Linked DNA regions of Homo sapiens: region 2 is linked to region 1. Evidence: promoter capture Hi-C in 16 types of primary human blood cells and fetal thymus (Javierre and others, 2016). All regions are on one chromosome and are shown on one strand. The core of a region is centred on a gene start or on the middle of the fragment in contact, and the rest is flanking DNA. Distances in the headings are between cores, read along the strand shown. Region 1 holds the start of CYP39A1 (cytochrome P450 family 39 subfamily A member 1). Region 2 has its middle 3.3 kb from the start of ENPP4.

Region 1 (5,139 bases), core at 2,339-4,838:
CCACTGTGCTCCAGCCTGGGCAACAGAGCGAGACTCTCTAAAAAAAAAAAAAAAAAAATTAGCTGGGTGTGGTGGCGTGCACCTGTAGTCCCAGCTACTCAGGAGGCTGAGTCAGGAGAATCGCTTGAACCTGGGAGGCAGAGGTTGCAGTGAGCTGAGATGGCGCCACTGCACTACAGCCTGGGCGACAGAGTGTGACTCCATCTCAAAAAAAAAACCTAAATAATAATAAAAAAAGACTATGTGCTGTATGTGTTCAGTTATTGTATCAGTAAGATAAAAAAACTAACTTGTTTTTGGACAAACAGAAAAGCACAGGAGACAAACACAGAACTCATAACAAACTTACCAGCTAGAATCAAGATAAATACCTACGTGTCTGTAAATGGCGGGTGTCACTCCTTGCCAAAGCTTTAGAAAGCCTTCCTCTTCAATGATCCCTAGAGCTGTGCGCACCATTCCCCTATAGGGGGCAGATTCTCTTGCACCGTCTCCCAACCGAGCAAGAGCTGCTTCTCCTTGCATTTGGAGTCGAGTTTTTGTGAGATCCAGGGGAAAGGTTGCTAACAAAAACACAAATGCAGGGAAAAACCCACAACATTCAGAGAAACAAACAAAAATCTAAAATCATAGGAGTAATATTTTCCCAAGACTGGTTGTTCTCAAATTTTAGAATATATCAGAATCAGCTAGGGAGATTTTAAAAATTAGAAATTTCCTAGCCCCGTGCCCATGGATTCTAATTCAGTAGGTTGAAGAGGGTTTAGAAACTTGATTCTCACACAGTCCCAAATTTAAGAATCACTACGCAAGAGCATCCTGGATCACTAGCAAAAAAAAAAAAAAAAAAAAAAAAAAAAAAAAAAAAAACAAACATTAACAATAAAAATTAAAATGACAAGCCTTGGGTTCTTTCTATTCAGAAATTTAACTTTAATATCTGTTAGTCATTAATTTTTGCTTTTCAATGGGAAATAATTTAAAGTACCATATTGTGTGCTATCCTCTTGACTGCAGCCATGATTATTTGAGATCTAATGTAACATTAGAATACTGCACTATATATTCTTATGTACTATAACAAATGCTAGATGAAGCTGAACTCTATAATTTCGTGGGTGATGTTCACATGCAGATGAATGACTGACATAATGTTTGAGATACAGAAGATGTAATGGAGTTTATAATGTTGTCTTTTATATGCAAGGGTCATAAGCTCAATATCCTTTCAATTAAAGCATATATGGAATTATTTTTCCAGCACTAAATTATATGCATCGCCTACTCATGGCCTCCTTACAAGTACTAACTGTATTTTGGAAAAATTTTTTGGTTTTAAGTTTTAAATTAGATACAGACCTTTTACCTTAATACAGTTAAGCTAAACGGCCTACATAAGGAAGATAGAGCTCATAACCTTATACAGAAAACGTCCTGAATAATTAAAATAATAACATTCAGACAAGTTCATGAACATTACTTACATTATATAAGACTTTTCAATGACCACCACCTGACACAAAACCTTAGTATACCTTTTCCAAGAGAAAACAATGTGGGGAAGGGAAGTGAATATTAAATCTTACCACTGGTTTTTGGAAAAGTTAGTATCTTGCTGACAGTTTCCCTAGAACAGAAGTAGCTTGCATAGACTTCAAGCAATATTTTATTGACATATGAAACCTGAAAAATCTTAATAGATTTCTCCATATTACACAGATTATGTCTTTCAAAATAAGTTTTGTTTTCTCGCTGGTTTGTTAAATGATGCTTCAGGTTCCTGAAGTGGTTTGTACTTAAAACCATCCCACATTTTGATTCCCATCCATTCTCCACACACAATTCTCTCCATGAATTTTTAACGAGGAATAGTCCTGTATAAAAGCCATTGAGTCAGAGGGGGACACATCAATTAAAAATAAAACCTGGAAATATCATTCAGCAATCTGCTTTTAGATCTTTTTAAGCTGATGAATTTTATTTCAGTAAAAACAATGAAAAGTAAAAATTCTCCATCATTTTCGAAAGGAGAGACATTAAAAAATAGAGGGGCTAAAAGGCAAAAATGGAAGAGCACGAAACAACTGATCATGGCTGGCTATGCTAGAATTAAAAAATAAACTCTTAAAATAGGACCAACTAACATTTACAAATGATAACGCATCAGAACTGTTCTTTTTATTTTTTTGTAACAGGCAAGAAAATGTAAGGGTAATCTTAAAATACACAGTTAAGGCTTCACAGGAAACACATGAGTATACTACTCACAAAATCCTTGGAATAAACGCTACTTGCTCATTCAAGGGCATCATCATTCCACTCTAGATGGCCTCTTAAAGTTTTTTCTTACTCATGTAGGCAGATGTAACTGCTCTTCTATGCTTTTATGACACCTAATAATATCTTCATTATAACAAGTAGCACATTATAATTGTCTTTCTCTGTCTCCCCAGCAGCCTGTAAGAAGGTCAGAACTGGGTCTTTTCAAATATATATCCACAGTCCCTGGTATTGTAGGAATTATAAAAATGTCGCAACTAATGGGTGTCCTGCCTTGGGTTTAGCAATCATATATTATTGACTTCTCAGAATCCTGCAAGGTAAACAGTATAGATGAATTACACTCAAAGAGGTCAAGTAGTCGATGCTCTGTGAGTGGCAGGTTAATAACGGAAGTCCCACAAGGTAGGTCCACAACTTGGACCCACAAGATAATGACAGTGTGGCTGTGTAAGACTATAAACCACAGAGATGATCTCAGTAAGGATGGAAAACAGATTACGTTTTTAAAAAGGTCATCCTCATGAAAAGGAAAATGATTCCTACAGAGGAATGACAGCTCGCGAAGCTTCTTAAAGTACAACATTCAAGCACCACAGCACATGCCTAAGGGAAGCATTAGAAGAGATTAGAAGGAAAAGGCCGTGGAGACCTCAATCCCTCCTCCTCCCACCGCGGGCCTGGCCTCCACCGCCACCTCTGCCAGGCGGGCATGGAAGGGGCGACCTCTCCGATGCGCACTGCCGGGCGCGAAGCCGCCCGCGCACCCTCCCCCAGCGCGGCGCGTGCCACTGGCCCGGGAGGCCCAGGCGTGGGCAGCCGGGTACCTAGCTCGGCCACGGTAGCCGCGCAGCCGGACAGTAGGAATTTGCTCGCTCGGGGCCATCTCTGGGTCAGCGGCAAAAGCCTCTCCTCCTCCTCCGGGACGGACATTCAGCAGTAGCGCAAGACGATAACGCACTCCTTCTCGCCGCTGCGCTGCACCGCGCCGCGGCGGCCGCTTCCCTGCCAGGGCGGCCCCTTTTCAACCGGCGAGTGGCCGGGTGAGGACCATTTCCCTCGTTCGGCTCGGCCGGGTGGACCCGCAACCTTCCTAGCAGTCCCAGCTGGAGTGGTCCAGCTGCCCCTTACACCCCAGAATAGAAAAACACAGCGGAGCCCAGGAGGTTACTGGGCAATGTAGTCCGCCGGGCTCCGCTACGTCTCTGATTGGCCGGCCGCGGGTCCCTCTGCGGCTCCGCCCCCGGCCTCCATGGCAACGCGGCTGGTTCTCGCCCGTCAGTCCTAGCCCGGCCCTGCCCCTCCTTGCATTTTTTCCGCGCTGGCTGAGATTCAAAGAGAAGTGGAGGTGGGAGGGAGCGACAATGGAAAAATCACCTGAAAACTGGGACAGAGGAAGGAAGCTACAGTTACGAAGGAGAGCTGCAAAAGTTGCAGCAGAAAGGTTGGGAGTCCCGACAGGTTCCGTAGCCCACAGAAAAGAAGCAAGGGACGGCAGGACTGTTTCACACTTTTCTGCTTCTGGAAGGTGCTGGACAAAAACATGGAACTAATTTCCCCAACAGTGATTATAATCCTGGGTTGCCTTGCTCTGTTCTTACTCCTTCAGCGGAAGAATTTGCGTAGACCCCCGTGCATCAAGGGCTGGATTCCTTGGATTGGAGTTGGATTTGAGTTTGGGAAAGCCCCTCTAGAATTTATAGAGAAAGCAAGAATCAAGGTATGTGGTCGTGGCAGACGGGGTCTCCAGAGGAGACAATGCTTTCTTTTTTAAACTTTCTTTCATTGACTCTTAAGTGCAGGGCTAGAACACGGGGAACATACCTGCTTGCCTCAACTAAAGGATCTAGTCATTTCTGAATTCCTCTACTAACAATTAACAACAATATCCTGTGCAAAATTTTGCGAAAGAAATGAAATACAATTGCAGCGTGCATCGACATTTTTGGAAGTAGAGATTAACTTTTCGTATTTTTACTTCATCGAAGTTAAGTTCCAAATGTGTATGTGTTAAGTAAATGTTTTCAGTAATTGGGAAAGATAAAGTGTAATCCAATTTAAGTTTGTGAAAATGAGTAATTCGTATCCAAATTGGAGTTAACACCAAAGTATTGTACAAATTGCTTGCACAGTTGGTCCGTACACAATAAACAGGCTCTGTATTTTTAGCTGACGTTGTTATTTGATGATGATGTACTCCATTTTCACTACGGCCTGAAGAGACTAGTAATCCTCCTTGTAGTAGATGTTTTTGTCTTGAAAGTATCTTTTAAATGTCTGAGCACTTTAAGGAACAGACCTTTATTAATGTCTTTTAAGTTTTATTCAATTTCCAGTCACAAATATTTTATGGTATTTGATTGTCTAATAAATTTGTATGATATTATAATTATTCTTATGAATTATAATACTTTCTGTGGTGACCCATTTTCCATCTGGTTAGCCCAATTTGTAGAATGAATTTATACGTAGTAGCATTATTTTACCACTGATCATTTGCCTTCAAAATCTCTGAGATTCCAATTTAGTAAAAAACATATAGAAAATTAAAGAGAACTAAGATGAAAATAAAAATAACCCAGAATATCACACCAGCTGTACTGTAAAAATTTAGTGTATTTATATTATTTTGGTCATTTTCCTATGTATTTACAACTATTTAATGAACAACAATGGAATAATAGTATAATACTCTTTTATGTGCTTTTGATTTTAACATATAATGTGAATGACTTTCCTGTACCATGAAATACTTTGAATCTTCCTTTTATGGCTATATTTTGTCATAGGAGGATACAATAGTTTACTTAAATCTCAATAGTTGGGTTTATAGGTTGCTGCCAAACTTTTTTCTTTCAG
Region 2 (4,880 bases), core at 172-2,671, 530 kb after region 1:
ATTTTCTTTCTTGTTCACTACTGTATCTCCAGCTCAAATAAAAAGTACAAATAAATTAAGAATATTAATCACATGTGATATCCTCAAGTGTTAAGTATTTAATAGCTGTAAATCCAGTACCTGGATTAGTAAACTGCAGTACTGGACCTTAGATAACAAATTCTGACGTTGGTCCCCTTGGTCTGAACCTTACAGTATAGCTATTACCAACAATCTGGAAGCAGCCATGGAGATGATTTGGCAATAGATGTATTCCGTTGATTATTAGTTTGTGCCTTGATAAATTAATTCCAGTTTTAAGTCTCAGGTTGGCCTGTGCATTGGTGAATATGGGCATCTTAGATCCATGGGCTTTCAGAGCTGGAGGGGATGGTAGTGGGTCTGTAGCTGAATCCCTAGAACCTGCAGACCCTAGAACCTGGTTTGAATACTCACTCTGTCACTCACCAGCAGAGCAATCATGGGCCAGTGTCTCAACCTATTTGAGCTTTCATTTCCTCATCTGCAAAACGCGTCTTGTTACAATACCAACCTCTTACTATCAAATGAATGAGGAAAGCGAGTAGAGTATTCAGCACAGTATCTGACACATGTTGTTTTGGGGATTATTATCATTATGACCAAAAAAGTACCCCAATTTGAACAATAGTCAGGGTAAGGCCAAGTTTTGGGGGAATTTAGGTAATGTCCAATGACATAACATTTAAGATTAGCAGAACTTAAATTTTGTGGCATTTGGGGGTATTGTGCATATCCTGTTTGTTCATTCAGTAGGTGCATATGTATGCTTAAAGGGTGGACAAAACTGAATGCCATCTAGGTCAGATGTGTGGTGAAGATAGCAGCTGGATGGGCATCAGGAGAGGACTCTCTTTATCCACTGCTACTGCCTGTGTGGCTGGGTTAAATTAGGGAGTCTCATGCCACCTGGGCTCTTGCTCTGTAAGATAAAGTGGTCAGGAACAGAGGGACAAAATGACACATAAGGACCTTTGGCCCTAAACTTTTGTTATCCTCTATATATTTACCATTTCAACCACAACCAAAATCCTGTTATAGTAAGGATATTTATCGTCTTGTGGAACAAGAAGTCCAGAGGTAAGGCAGACTTCAGGACTGGTTGAGTTAGCAACTCAACGATTTCATAATGTACTCAGTTCTTTGCAGCTTTACACTTGGCTTTTAACAGAGTAGACTTCTGGTTCCTTTAGTGGTAAATATAACTACCAGCAGCAACAGGAACCATGTAATTCATTTTTCACTTCCACTGGGTGATAGAAATGACGTCTAGATTTCTTCTGTCTCTTAGAAGTCTTCAGCAACTGTCTCCTTTAATCACTTTGGACAGAATTGTGTCACATATCCAAATCTAAGCCAGCAAAGGATATGGTTACCTGTAGACCAATGCAGTCCACATCTTAAACTGAGGTCTCACCCAAACTTTACTTTTTTTCTCAATGGAAATGAGTTGGAATGGGTGCTGGGAAGCCGGCCACAAAGTTCACTATAGTTTCATTGTAGAACTTTAATGATAATAAAAGAAAACATAATAGTAACATAAATTTCTTATTTACAATGTGATTTTTAGGCATAAGTGTTGTTTTATTTAGGTAGGCAAAATAATATTCATTTATAATGTTCTTTCAGCTCAGCTTTTGCAAAGGGAATTTTATATAAATTTTGGAAATATAGAGAGCCTTTAAACCCATTTTATGTTAGAGATTGAAATGAATTAGAGGCAATAGTCTAAACTTATTATTTACAAATGAATATACCCCACAGAGAAATGACTGAGCAAACATACAGTTAGATAGAAGAAATATATTCTAATGTTTGATAGGAGAGTAGGGTGACTATAGTTAAATGTATTTTATATTTCAAAATAGCTAGAAGACAGGACTTGAAATGTTCCCATCACATAGAAATGATAAATACTCGAGGTAATGGATACCCTAAATACCCTGACTGGATTGTTACACGTTCAATGCATGTAACAAAATATCACATCTGCCCTATAAATGTATAGAAATATTATTTATCAATACACAAAAACTAAGTACAACTAGAGCATTTGCCTCTATGGGGCAATGTCAGATTTGGAAGCAGCATGTCAAAGGCAGTTTCTTTTTCTCCCATGAACTACGCTCAAGACTGAACATTTATTCATTAACACAAAATATTTTAAAAATCTTATCCTGTTTTCAAAATTTAAGACATAGCTCTCTATACAATTATTTCTCTTTTATACTCCTAATTGTGATGTATAACTCATTGCTGGCCAGGAGAAGGTCAGAAGTTAGAAGTTACAGGAAGAAGGTTTCAGAGCAAAAGCCACACGCTTCCCAAAGAAAAACAATTCCTGTCCACTGCTCAGTTCTAATTAAACAACAACACAACTGAAACTAAATAATTGAATGTCAAGGAGAGTATTTAAGGTTCACTTTTTAATATAAATTAGATGTTTAAGTAATACAGATTTTATCTTAAATATAACAGGGGAAAAGGACCTTATGAATCATTGCATTTTAGTGATTTTGAAAGTTCCTTTGGTGAAAACTTTTCACCTACTCCATTTTCAGTAAGATTATATTGGAATAATCTCAATCAAGTTAAGATTGTAAAATATTTTTAAGTGCTCCTTTAAAAAATGATTCTGTATTAACCACCATGAACTATTGTGTTAGACCTTCACTCTAAAGGAATTTTTTCAAATATTTAATAAAGCTGTGAAAGAATCAGTATAAATTCTTTTGAGGCTTTCCTATGTGGAGAGCAATGTGCTCAATTTTTCAAAAGATACAAAAATAAGTAAGATTAATTCCTTGCCCTCAAGGTGCCTCTAATCTAAGAAAATGAATGGAGAGGACATTACTCTCTTGCTTTTGCCTGCCCAGCATTCATTCCTCCTCCTTCTGGCAATTCCTCCAAGAGACAAACCCACCTTCATTCTTTGACTATGGGAGTCAGATGGGGCTGACTGTTAATTCCCCTCATCCACGGGGCAGACTCCTAAGGTGCCAGCTATCTTGGTTTGTCCCAAATGGAAGAGGTTCCTGGGACATGGGATTTTTAATCCTAAAATCAGAAAAGCAACAAGCAAATCGGGGTGAGTTGGTCACCCTAAGCCTGACTCAAACTTGGCCTTTTGGAGCCAATTTTACTCCATTAACCACATGAATTAGTTCAGTGATGGGGACATGCCTCAGTCCAGGCCATAAAGACTCAATTCTGAAACTTTTGTTGAAATAATTGGGAAAGAGTCCCTGTTTCAGCAACAATTGCTAAATAGGTAGAGTATAAGCTTACCTATTTGGCAATTGTTGATAATCTACCTATTTAGCAATCACTGAAGCTGCTGGTGGCCATCATTGTCACTGTAAAGGGAAAGTCTACCTGAGAAGAAAGCAAAGCCAAGAGCTGGAGTCCAACACGTGATGACATTGAGCACGTGGGTCCAAGTTAACCTGAAGCTCCATCCTTGGACTTTTCACTTTACATGACTCAGTAAATTATCTTTTTGCTTAAACTATTTTTTTAACTTTTTAAAAATATATATATATATTTTAATTATACTTTAAGTTCTAAGGTACATGTGCACAACGTGCAAGTTTGTTACATATGTATACATGTGCCATGTTGGTGTGCTACACCCATTAACTCGTCATTTACATTATGTATATCTCCTAATGCTATCCCTCCCCTCTCCTCCCACCCCACAACAGGCCCTGGTGTGTGATGTTCCCCTTCCTGGGTCCAAGTGTTCTCATTGTTCAATTCCCACCTATGAGTGAGAACATGCGGTGTTTGGTTTTTTGTCCTTGCGATAGTTTGCTGAGAATGATGGTTTCCAGCTTCATCCATGTCCCTACAAAGGACATGAACTCATTATTTTTATGGCTGCATAGTATTCTGTGGTGTATATGTGCCACATTTTCTTAATCCAGTCTATCATTGTTGGACATTTGGGTTGGATCCAAGTCTTTGCTATTGTGAGTAGTGCTGCAATAAACATATGTGTGCTTTTGTCTTTATAGCAACATGATTTATAATCCTTTGGGTATATACCTAGTTATGGGATGGCTGGGTCAAATGGTATTTCTAGTTCTAGATCCCTGAGGAATCGCCACACTGTCTTCCACAATGGTTGAACTAGTTTACAGTCCCACCAACAGTGTAAAAGTGTTCCTATTCCTCCACATCCTCTCCAGTACCTGTTGTTTCCTGACTTTTTAATGATCGCCATTCTAACTGGTGTGAGATGACATCTCATTGTGGTTTTGATTTGCACTTCTCTGATGGCCAGTGATGATGAGCATTTTTTCATGTGTCTGTTGGCTGCGTAAATGTCTTCTTTTGAGAAGTGTCTGTTCATATCCTTTGCCCACTTTCTGATGGGGTTGTTTGTTTTTTTCTTGTAAATTTGTTTGAGTTCTTTGTAGATTCTGGATATTAGCCCTTTGTCAGATGAGTAGATTGCAAAAATTTTCTCCCATTCTGTAGGTTGCCCATTCACTCTGATGGTAGTTTCTTTTGCTGTGCAGAAGTTCTTTAGTTTAATTAGATCCCATTTGTCAATTTTGGCTTTTGTTGCCGTTGCTTTTGGTGTTTCAGACATGAAGTCCTTGCCCATGCCTATGTCCTGAATGGTATTGCCTAGGTTTTCATCTAGGGTTTCAATGGTTTTAGGACTAACATTTAAGTCCACCTTGAATTAATTTTTGTGTAGGGTGTAAGGAAGGGATCCAGTTTCAGCTTTCTACATATGGCTGGCCAGTTTTCCCAGCACCATTTGTTAAATAGGGAATCCTTTCCACATTTCTTGTTTTTGTCAGGTTTGTCAAAGATCAGATAGTTTTAGATGTGTGGTATTATTTCTGAGG

The links. The method cuts DNA at HindIII sites, captures the fragments that hold promoters and counts their contacts. A CHiCAGO score of 5 or more calls a contact.
Region 2: a contact is called between a fragment that was not itself captured here and the fragment with the promoter of CYP39A1 in region 1, in 2 of 17 cell types (fetal thymus and total B cells). The highest score is 5.1, in fetal thymus.

What each region holds. Positions count from the first base shown.
Region 1 is chr6:46,651,267-46,656,405 of GRCh38, reverse strand. CYP39A1 (cytochrome P450 family 39 subfamily A member 1) reads left to right here and starts at 3,588. Exons shown (of 12, transcript NM_016593.5): 1 at 3,588-4,000. The coding sequence starts at 3,824. SLC25A27 (solute carrier family 25 member 27) reads right to left here and starts at 3,431. Exons shown (of 9, transcript NM_004277.5): 1 at 3,108-3,431; 2 at 372-563. The coding sequence starts at 3,213. RefSeq lists silencers at 2,994-3,093, 3,524-3,613 and enhancers at 3,274-3,403, 3,634-3,683. The HindIII fragment of the contact is 2,676 bases long and covers 2,851-5,139 here.
Region 2 is chr6:46,124,262-46,129,141 of GRCh38, reverse strand. It overlaps a transcript of CLIC5 not described here. Among named protein-coding and RNA genes, the nearest start is that of ENPP4, 3.3 kb to the left of the region's middle. The HindIII fragment of the contact is 3,764 bases long and covers 1-3,303 here.